2 separate regions of the Homo sapiens genome follow, and region 1 is linked to region 2. Evidence: promoter capture Hi-C in human tissues and cell types (Jung and others, 2019). All regions are on one chromosome and are shown on one strand. The core of a region is centred on a gene start or on the middle of the fragment in contact, and the rest is flanking DNA. Distances in the headings are between cores, read along the strand shown.

Evidence for each region. The method cuts DNA at HindIII sites, captures the fragments that hold promoters and counts their contacts. A contact is called where the count stands out against the background at its distance.
Region 1: a contact is called between a fragment that was not itself captured here and the fragment with the promoter of TMPRSS6 in region 2, in 1 of the 25 tissues and cell types used here (dorsolateral prefrontal cortex).

What each region holds. Positions count from the first base shown.
Region 1 is chr22:36,590,741-36,594,239 of GRCh38, forward strand. All of the region lies in intron 1 of CACNG2 (calcium voltage-gated channel auxiliary subunit gamma 2), which reads right to left. Among named protein-coding and RNA genes, the nearest start is that of EIF3D, 63 kb to the left of the region's middle. The HindIII fragment of the contact is 7,923 bases long and covers 1-3,499 here.
Region 2 is chr22:37,108,289-37,112,176 of GRCh38, forward strand. TMPRSS6 (transmembrane serine protease 6) reads right to left here and starts at 1,425. Exons shown (of 18, transcript NM_001374504.1): 1 at 1,215-1,425. RefSeq lists an enhancer at 1-156. The HindIII fragment of the contact is 35,568 bases long and covers 1-3,888 here.

The sequences.
Region 1 (3,499 bases), core at 692-3,191, 520 kb before region 2:
CAGCTTCCCAGTGCTGTCGGGGAAAAGCTCAACATCTCTAACAAAGCCTGACCCCCAACCTCCACATCTGGCCTCACCTCCCACCCACCTCCTCCCTCCCTGTGCATCTCTGCCTTCTTTCCTGCCATGCTCCCTCCTACCTCAGGACCGTGGCACATGCATGCTGGTCCTGCTGCCTGAACTCCCACCACGTCCTCTGTTGCCTCTTTCTCCTAACCTCCTTCTGCCTCCCTGCACTGTGCTACTGGGGTGTCCTCCACTAGCTGGCTAGTGCTGGCTGCTCTATGTTGGGGGGAGATATATTTTTTTTTTTTGAGACGGTGTCTTGCTCTGTCACCCAGGCTGGAGTGCAGTGGCACAATCTCGGCTCACTGCAAGCTCCGCCTCCCGGGTTCACGCCATTCTCCTGCCTCAGCCTCCAGAGTAGCTGGAACTACAGGCGCCCGCCACTACGCCCGGCTAATTTTTTTTTTTGTATTATTTGTAGAGACGGGGTTTCACTGTGGTCTCGATCTCCTGACCTCGTGATCCGCCTGCTTCGGCCTCCCAAAGTGCTGGGATTACAGGCGTGAGCCACCGCGCCCGGCCTAAGGGGGGAGATATTAAAGCCTGTATGATACTAGTGGGAATGTTCTAGTAGAGAGGGAAGAAGGGAGGGGCTGGGGGCAGTGGCTCAGCCTTAGCTTTAGGAAGCTGAGGCAGGAGGATCCCTTGAACCCAGCAGTTCAAGACCAGCCTGGGCAACATAGCAAGACCCTATATCTACAAAAAATAAAAACAAATTAGCCAGATGTGGTGGTATGTGTCTGTGGTCCTAGCTTACTTGGGAGTCTGAGGCAGGAGGATCCCTTGAACCCAGGTGTTCGAGGCTGCAGTGAGCTAGGATAGCACCACTGCACTCCAGTCTGGTGACAGAGCAAGACTCTGTCTTGAAAATAAAATCAAAATAAAAAAGTAAAAGAAAGGAGGACAGAAGGGATGACCTGCAGAGATGGGGGAGCAATACAGGTGCACTGTGCAAGGAGATGAGGCCCAGGACACAGCACAAGGGGGGTGGTGCTGTGCCAGGAGGGACAGCAGAGCTCGTGGGTGCAGTGCTGGGGATGGGCAGACATGGTGGGAGGGTGTAACACTTCTCTTCTGTTGCTTCTATTTTCCCAACGAAATGGGAAGCAGGATCATCAACTGAGAGTGAGGAAGGGTTGGGGACGGGAGGACAGGGGAAGGGAAGCGAGAGTGGGAGACAGTGGACCAGGCTGTGAAGTGTGTGTGTCAGTGGCTTGAAGGTCACTTCTGAGATTCTGTGGTTTTCTCTGGCCACATTTGTGGCATGGGTGCAGTTAGCTGGAGAGTTGCGTCTAACCAGGAGGAGGTTTGTGAGGTGAGTGCAACAGGGAGAGGGTGGAATGGGAGGGATTATGAGGATGGATATGGAGTCTAAGCTGGGTAAACAGGGAAATGAGGTCCTGAAGGGCAAGTGAGGCAGTGCAAAGGCGGGGGTGGGGGGTGGAGCGGGGAGGGCAGTCAATGCTTTTGAGCCTGGGGTTGGGGTGGGGTCAAAGCATTGTTGAAATGGGGGTGCATGGGAGTGAGCTGCAACGGTGGCACGTGGTAGCCAGAGAGTGGGATGCAAAAGACAGAGAGTGGAGGGGGTGTGGATATTGGAAATGCCAAGGGCAAGGGTAAGACCCCGAATGAGGTGGCTTGGGGCAGGCAGAGGTAGGGATGATCTTCAAGTATGCACTGGAAAGGTCACACAAATTAATAGATAAGGCAAAACTACAACATTCGCTGTTGTTTTCTATATACATCGAGTATATATTAAGAAACTGCCTACCCGGTTAAAATTTGAAGTGCAAATGATTCATCAAATTATTCTAATAAGCCCCAAATCACCGATTGGTTTTTAGAAATGAGTGGTGTGATCTTTTGATGATGAGGCTGTTATGAGCTAAATGATGGCTTGACTGGACCATGCTTTGACACAGGAAACCACACCAGATGCTCCCCAAGCTTCCCTGTTAGAGTAAGGGTCATTCCACCTCGGCGAGTGCAGAATCTTCTCCTAAGTTGTCCTCTACGGTTCGACTAGAGGACCTCTCTGTGCCCAGCAGCCCCAGGAGGTCAGGGCCGGGAATGGGAAGGTAGTGGGAGGCTGTGAGAGGGGTAGAGGCTCTCATCGGCAGGGCAGTGGTGTGCGCCCAGCCCAGCCCAGTCCCACCAGTCAGGACCAGTAGGGAGACTCTTCTTCTCTTGCCCCCATCCTTGGGGCGGGCCTTGGAGTTTATAGAACCTGAGAACAGAGCTGAGTCCTTAACCCAGCCTTGGGGAGCGAGGAGAGGAGATGGAGCCTTGGTCCCAGCCCTTCTCTTCTCTCTGCCCCGCCCAATGCAGGAGCCACCCCTTCCCCCAGCCAGCTTCCCTGACATAGTAAGACTGATCGGTACAACAGTATTTCAATATTTAACAACCAGTGAGGCAGCACCGGCACATCAGGTTGGAGTGAAGGGGTCACGGCCAGGGACTGGAGGGGCTGATTTCCTGGTTGTGGAATCTGCAAGGATGATAACGGGAGCAGCATTGGAGGCAAAGGCAGTGAGCCAGCGCTCAGCTCCCCAAAGACTGAATGGCGGCGGCCATGAGGGAGTCGGACAGGTAGGCTGGGATGTGTTTCACAGAGGCAGGGAGTTTAGGGAGGAGGCAGGGAAATGGACCGGAAATGTCGATGAGGCCCAGGGAGGCCTGGGATGTGAGCAGTAAAACACTCTCGACAGTGAGAGTTTGCAGGGGCGGTGGTGTCCTTCGGGGAAAGCCAGATTTCCATTAGAGCAAGGACAGAATGGGGGGATTCTGCTGGCACTGTGACCTAAATTCTAGAAGGTGCCATGGCAAGGATTTAGGAGGGCGGGGGAGTTAGAGATCCAGCCAGATCAGAGGACACACAGCCCTGAGGGACAAGTGATGAGTAGGGAGGAGTGATGGGGTAAACTGGGATACAGGTCACTGTGCGATTGGTCCCAACGCCTCTGGTGGCCATGAGGCTGTGAGGGTCAGCTGGAGGAGCACAGGGTCTCCAGGAGCACTTGGAGCTCGGTGGGCCCTGGATTCAGTCTGATTAATGGTGGTGCTGGGGAGAGGTATAGGAGGGGAGGGGGCACTAGCAGCACTCAAGCATTAGTGGTGAAATTTGAACTTCATAGGACATCTACGTCAACAGACATCACTCCAGTAAGGGGAGAGTGGTGAGTGGTGATGAAATGAATGAGATTTCATTTCCCTAAGGCCAGCCTAGGGTTCCATTGTATTTCCTTCTGGTTGGTGGTAATCCACCCCAGGGGTTGTGATGGCTTCAGGCACAGATGGATCCAGGTGCTCCAAAATCTGGAACCTCTCTCCATCTCTGACTTTCCTCCCAACTAGCTTCATTCCTAGGCACCCTCTGTCCCTGTGGTAGAGACTAAGGGCCAAGTGCCTGGCACTGGGATGGTAGAGGAAAATC
Region 2 (3,888 bases), core at 175-2,674:
TATGCAGCCCCTGTCACCTCAGTTCAGACCTCACCTCTTCGCAGCTCTCCCAGAGTGCCCTAGAAGGGGCGGCTGCCCCTCGCGATGTGCAGCTTACCTGTGGGCACTCTCTCTTTGCCCCTCACATTGAACTCCTGGAAGCGGGGACTGTGCTCCAATTGCCACAGGGGCCTGAAGCAGTCCCCCAGCTCTGAGCACCATGGACCCCACCCTGGCACCTGCTCCTCACTCCCTCCTGCCCTTCTGGCCATTGGAGGGTCTCGGGTCTGCCTGCTGGAGGCTGAGCTCCTTGGGGCGGGGCCGCGACTCCCCCAGCAATGCAGATCCGGATTCAACCACTGCGTATGAACTCCTACCATGTGCCAGCCCTGTGCTGGGCAGTGCTGCAAACTCCACTGCAGCCTCCAACAGCCTGGGGTGCCTACTTTGCTGACTCTATTTAATGGCTGGGGAAACTGAGGTAGAGAGAGGTAACATGACTTACCCGAGGTCCCTCAGCCAGGGCAGAGCAGAGCAGAGCAGGGACTCTGGGCTAGGGCCATAGGGGCATCTTTCAGTGAAACCATTAGGCCCTAGAGTCCTGAGAGTGTGGGGGACTGGGTGGGGGTCCCTTCCACACATATAAACACACTCACAGACCCACAGATGTACACAGATGGAGACACGCGGAGGGATATACGCACATCTATTCATGACACAAAAATTCATAGATGCACGCCCTTCCTACACAGACACACACACGAACACACATACACATACATGCCAACTCTGAGCCTGTGAGCCCAGGGTCCTGGGCTTAAGTCAGTACATAGGTGCAATGTGGGGCTCCGGGCCTGTCTCCTACACCAGAAGGCCCAGGTGGGGTACCGGGTGTGGAGGGGGCAGCATGTCCAGTCCTGCGAGGCAGGGGTAGGGTGGCCTCTCCCTTCCTCCTGTCCCTGCCACCTGAATCCCAGGCCACCAACCACCCAGCACTGATGCTGTGCCTGTCCACACACCTGGTGTCACCCTGCGTGGTCCCTCCCCTCCCCAGCTCTGTGGGCCCCTCACCTTCTGCTCACTGATCACCCTCTGGCCGATGAGGCCCTGCAGGCCTGGCCTCGGAGCAGGGTAGGTGGCTCAGGCTGCAGGGAGCCAGGCCCAGCTCTTAGGGTGGACACTGTCACTAGGTCATTTATAGATCCCGGTCCCCTGTCCTGGAGGCCCCCGCTTACCTTTGGGAGCGGCAGATAGGTGCCGGGCCTGCACACAGGCCTCAGGAGCCTCTGTTTGTCCAGGCCAAGGCCTCCCCACCCCCACCCAGCCAGCCCAGGCTGGATCAATGGCCTAGAGCCATGACCAGGGTGTCTGGCCCTTGTCCCCTGTGGCCTGTGGCCTCAGGCTCCATGGAACTCCTCCTGCTGGGTCCTGGACAGCACTGTGACTAAGTACAGGTAAACAGGCAGGAGGTAGGAGAAGGCAGTGCCTGCCCCGCCCCATCTTCCCCCACCCCCGCATGGGCACCCCAGAGGCTGGCAGGCAGGTGCGGGAGATCTGAGCTCTCCCCCGAGGCCCGTTGCCTGGTGACATGCCTGCCTGGTTACAGCCCCTGGTCCCCGAGAGCATGAGGTAGGGACAGCCAAGGACTGGGGACTGTGCAGAGGCCGGTGCAGGTGAGTGCAGGGGCTCACAAGGGTGAGTCCAGGTGCTTACCTGGACAGGCGAGACTAAAGGAGCTGCTGGCCTGAGAGAGAGAAAAGGAGGCTGGGCCCATATACTCTGGGGACTGGAGAGGAGAAAGGGGAGGCAGGGGTGGGGTTTGATGCTATTTTCTGTTTAGCTGGGAATTATTTGAATTCCTACCTCGTTCTTTTTTTTTTTTTTTTTTTTTTTTAAGATGGAGTCTCACTCCGTCACCCAGGCTAGAGTGCAGTGGTGTGATTTCGGCTCACTGCAACCTCCGCCTCCCGGGTTCAAGCAATTCTCCTGCCTCAGCCTCCCAGGTAGCTGGGATTACAGCGCCCACCACCATGCCCGGCTAATTTTCATAATTTTAGAAGAGATGGGGTTTCACCATGTTAGCCAGGCTGGTCTCGAACTCCTGACCTCAAGTGATTCCACCCACCTCGACCTCCCAAAACGCTAGGATTACAGGCATGAGCGACCGCACGCAGCATGAATTCCTACCTGGTTCCGTAGCGCTGTGCTGTCCATGACGGTAGCCGCTGGTCACCCGTGGCTCTTGAGTCAGTCTGAACTGAGAAAAGCTGCACGGGGGAGACGCACACCAGGTTTCCAAGGCCAAGTGCAAACAGGATGTCAACCAACGCGATAACAATTTTTATATTGATTTTATGTTGAAATAACACTGGTGATCATGGGATAAATAAAATGTATTATTAAAAGCAATTTTCTTCTGGCTCTCTTGTTTTTTTTTTTTTCAGAGACAGGGTCTCATTAGGTTGCCAGGCTGGTCTGGAGCTCCTGGGCCCACATGATCCTCCTGCTTCAGCCTCCCAAGTAGCTGGGATTACAGGCGCGGGCCACCACACCCCTTGTTGCATGTGGATATTAGACAGGTTAAGTCACAAGTGTGACCTGCGTTGTTGTTCTATGGAACAGCGTTGCTGTGGAGATGGGTTTGAGCCATATGCGTGCCGAAGTGCCGGATGGGAGCCAGGGCTTTCTAGGGTGCGTGCAGGGCAGCGGGCGTCTGTCTCAGACAAGGCTGACTTTCAGCGAGTCTACATCCTGAGGCCAGAATGCGGGGTGCACGCCTGAGATGCTGTGTGCTGTGGGCATATGGGTCCCAGAGTGTGTGTGTAAGAGAGACAGTCTGGAATTTGTGTGTGTAGATTATGTATGTGTAGAATGTGCGTGTGTGTGTGTGTGTGTGTGTGTGGAGCGTAGGGATTGTGTGTGGGGTATAAGATTTGTGTGAGAGGTGTGTCTGTGAGGTTTGTATGGTGTGGGGTGGGGGGTGTGTGAAGTGTGTTGTGTGGGCATATGGACTGTGCATGTGTGTGCAGTGTGGGTGCTGGGAATGTGCAGTGTAAGGTGTGTGTGTCTTTGAGGTACGTATGGTGTGAGGTGTGTATGGAGCATGAGAGGTGTGTGCAGCTGTGTGTGTGTGTGTGTGCATGCTCACAGTATGTGTGGAATATGAGGCATGTGTTTAGTGTGAGGTGTGTGCATAGTGTGAGGTGTGTGTGTAGTGTAAGGTGTATGTAGTGTGAAGCATGTGTGGAGTGTGAAGCGTGTGTGTAGTGTGAGACGTGTGTGGAGTGTGAGGTGTGTGTGGAGCGTGAGGCATGTGTGGAGTGTGAGGCGTGTGAGTGGAGTGTGCAGCGGGTGTGAAGTGTGAGATGCTTATGGATTGGCTGGGATGGGACAGGGCCCCGCGCCCGGGCTTTGCCGTGACCGCCGGTTTTCAGCCCTACCTGGCTCCCTTTTAGTTGTAGGAACCTGGGCAGATTCCCTGACTTCTGAGCGGTGCTTCTTCCATCTGTCGAATGAAAAAAATTCGCCCCTTCTTGATGAACGGGAAACAACGTGTGCGAAGGCCCAGCACTGTGGGGGGCGCCGAGAGCGGGTTTCTCCTCTTCTCATGGTGACACGCTGGTGTGTCGGGGCCAGGTGTGCCTGTGCACTGAAGTCCAGGCAATGACAGGTGGCATGTGTGTGGTGCCTACCTGTGTGGCCCCTCACGCATGTCTCAAGCACGTAGATGCCCCATGCTCTCTGGCGTGTGCTCCCTAAGGGGGCCTGTAGCAGTAGGCAGGTACCTCCCTGACATGTGCGTGGGGGGCACCCCTGTGTCCTAAGGTGTGAAGGCCCCTGCCCATGGGGGCTGGGCATGAGCTCAGTACAGCACCATCTCCAGGCAGAGCCAGGGCTGGGCCAGGGCAG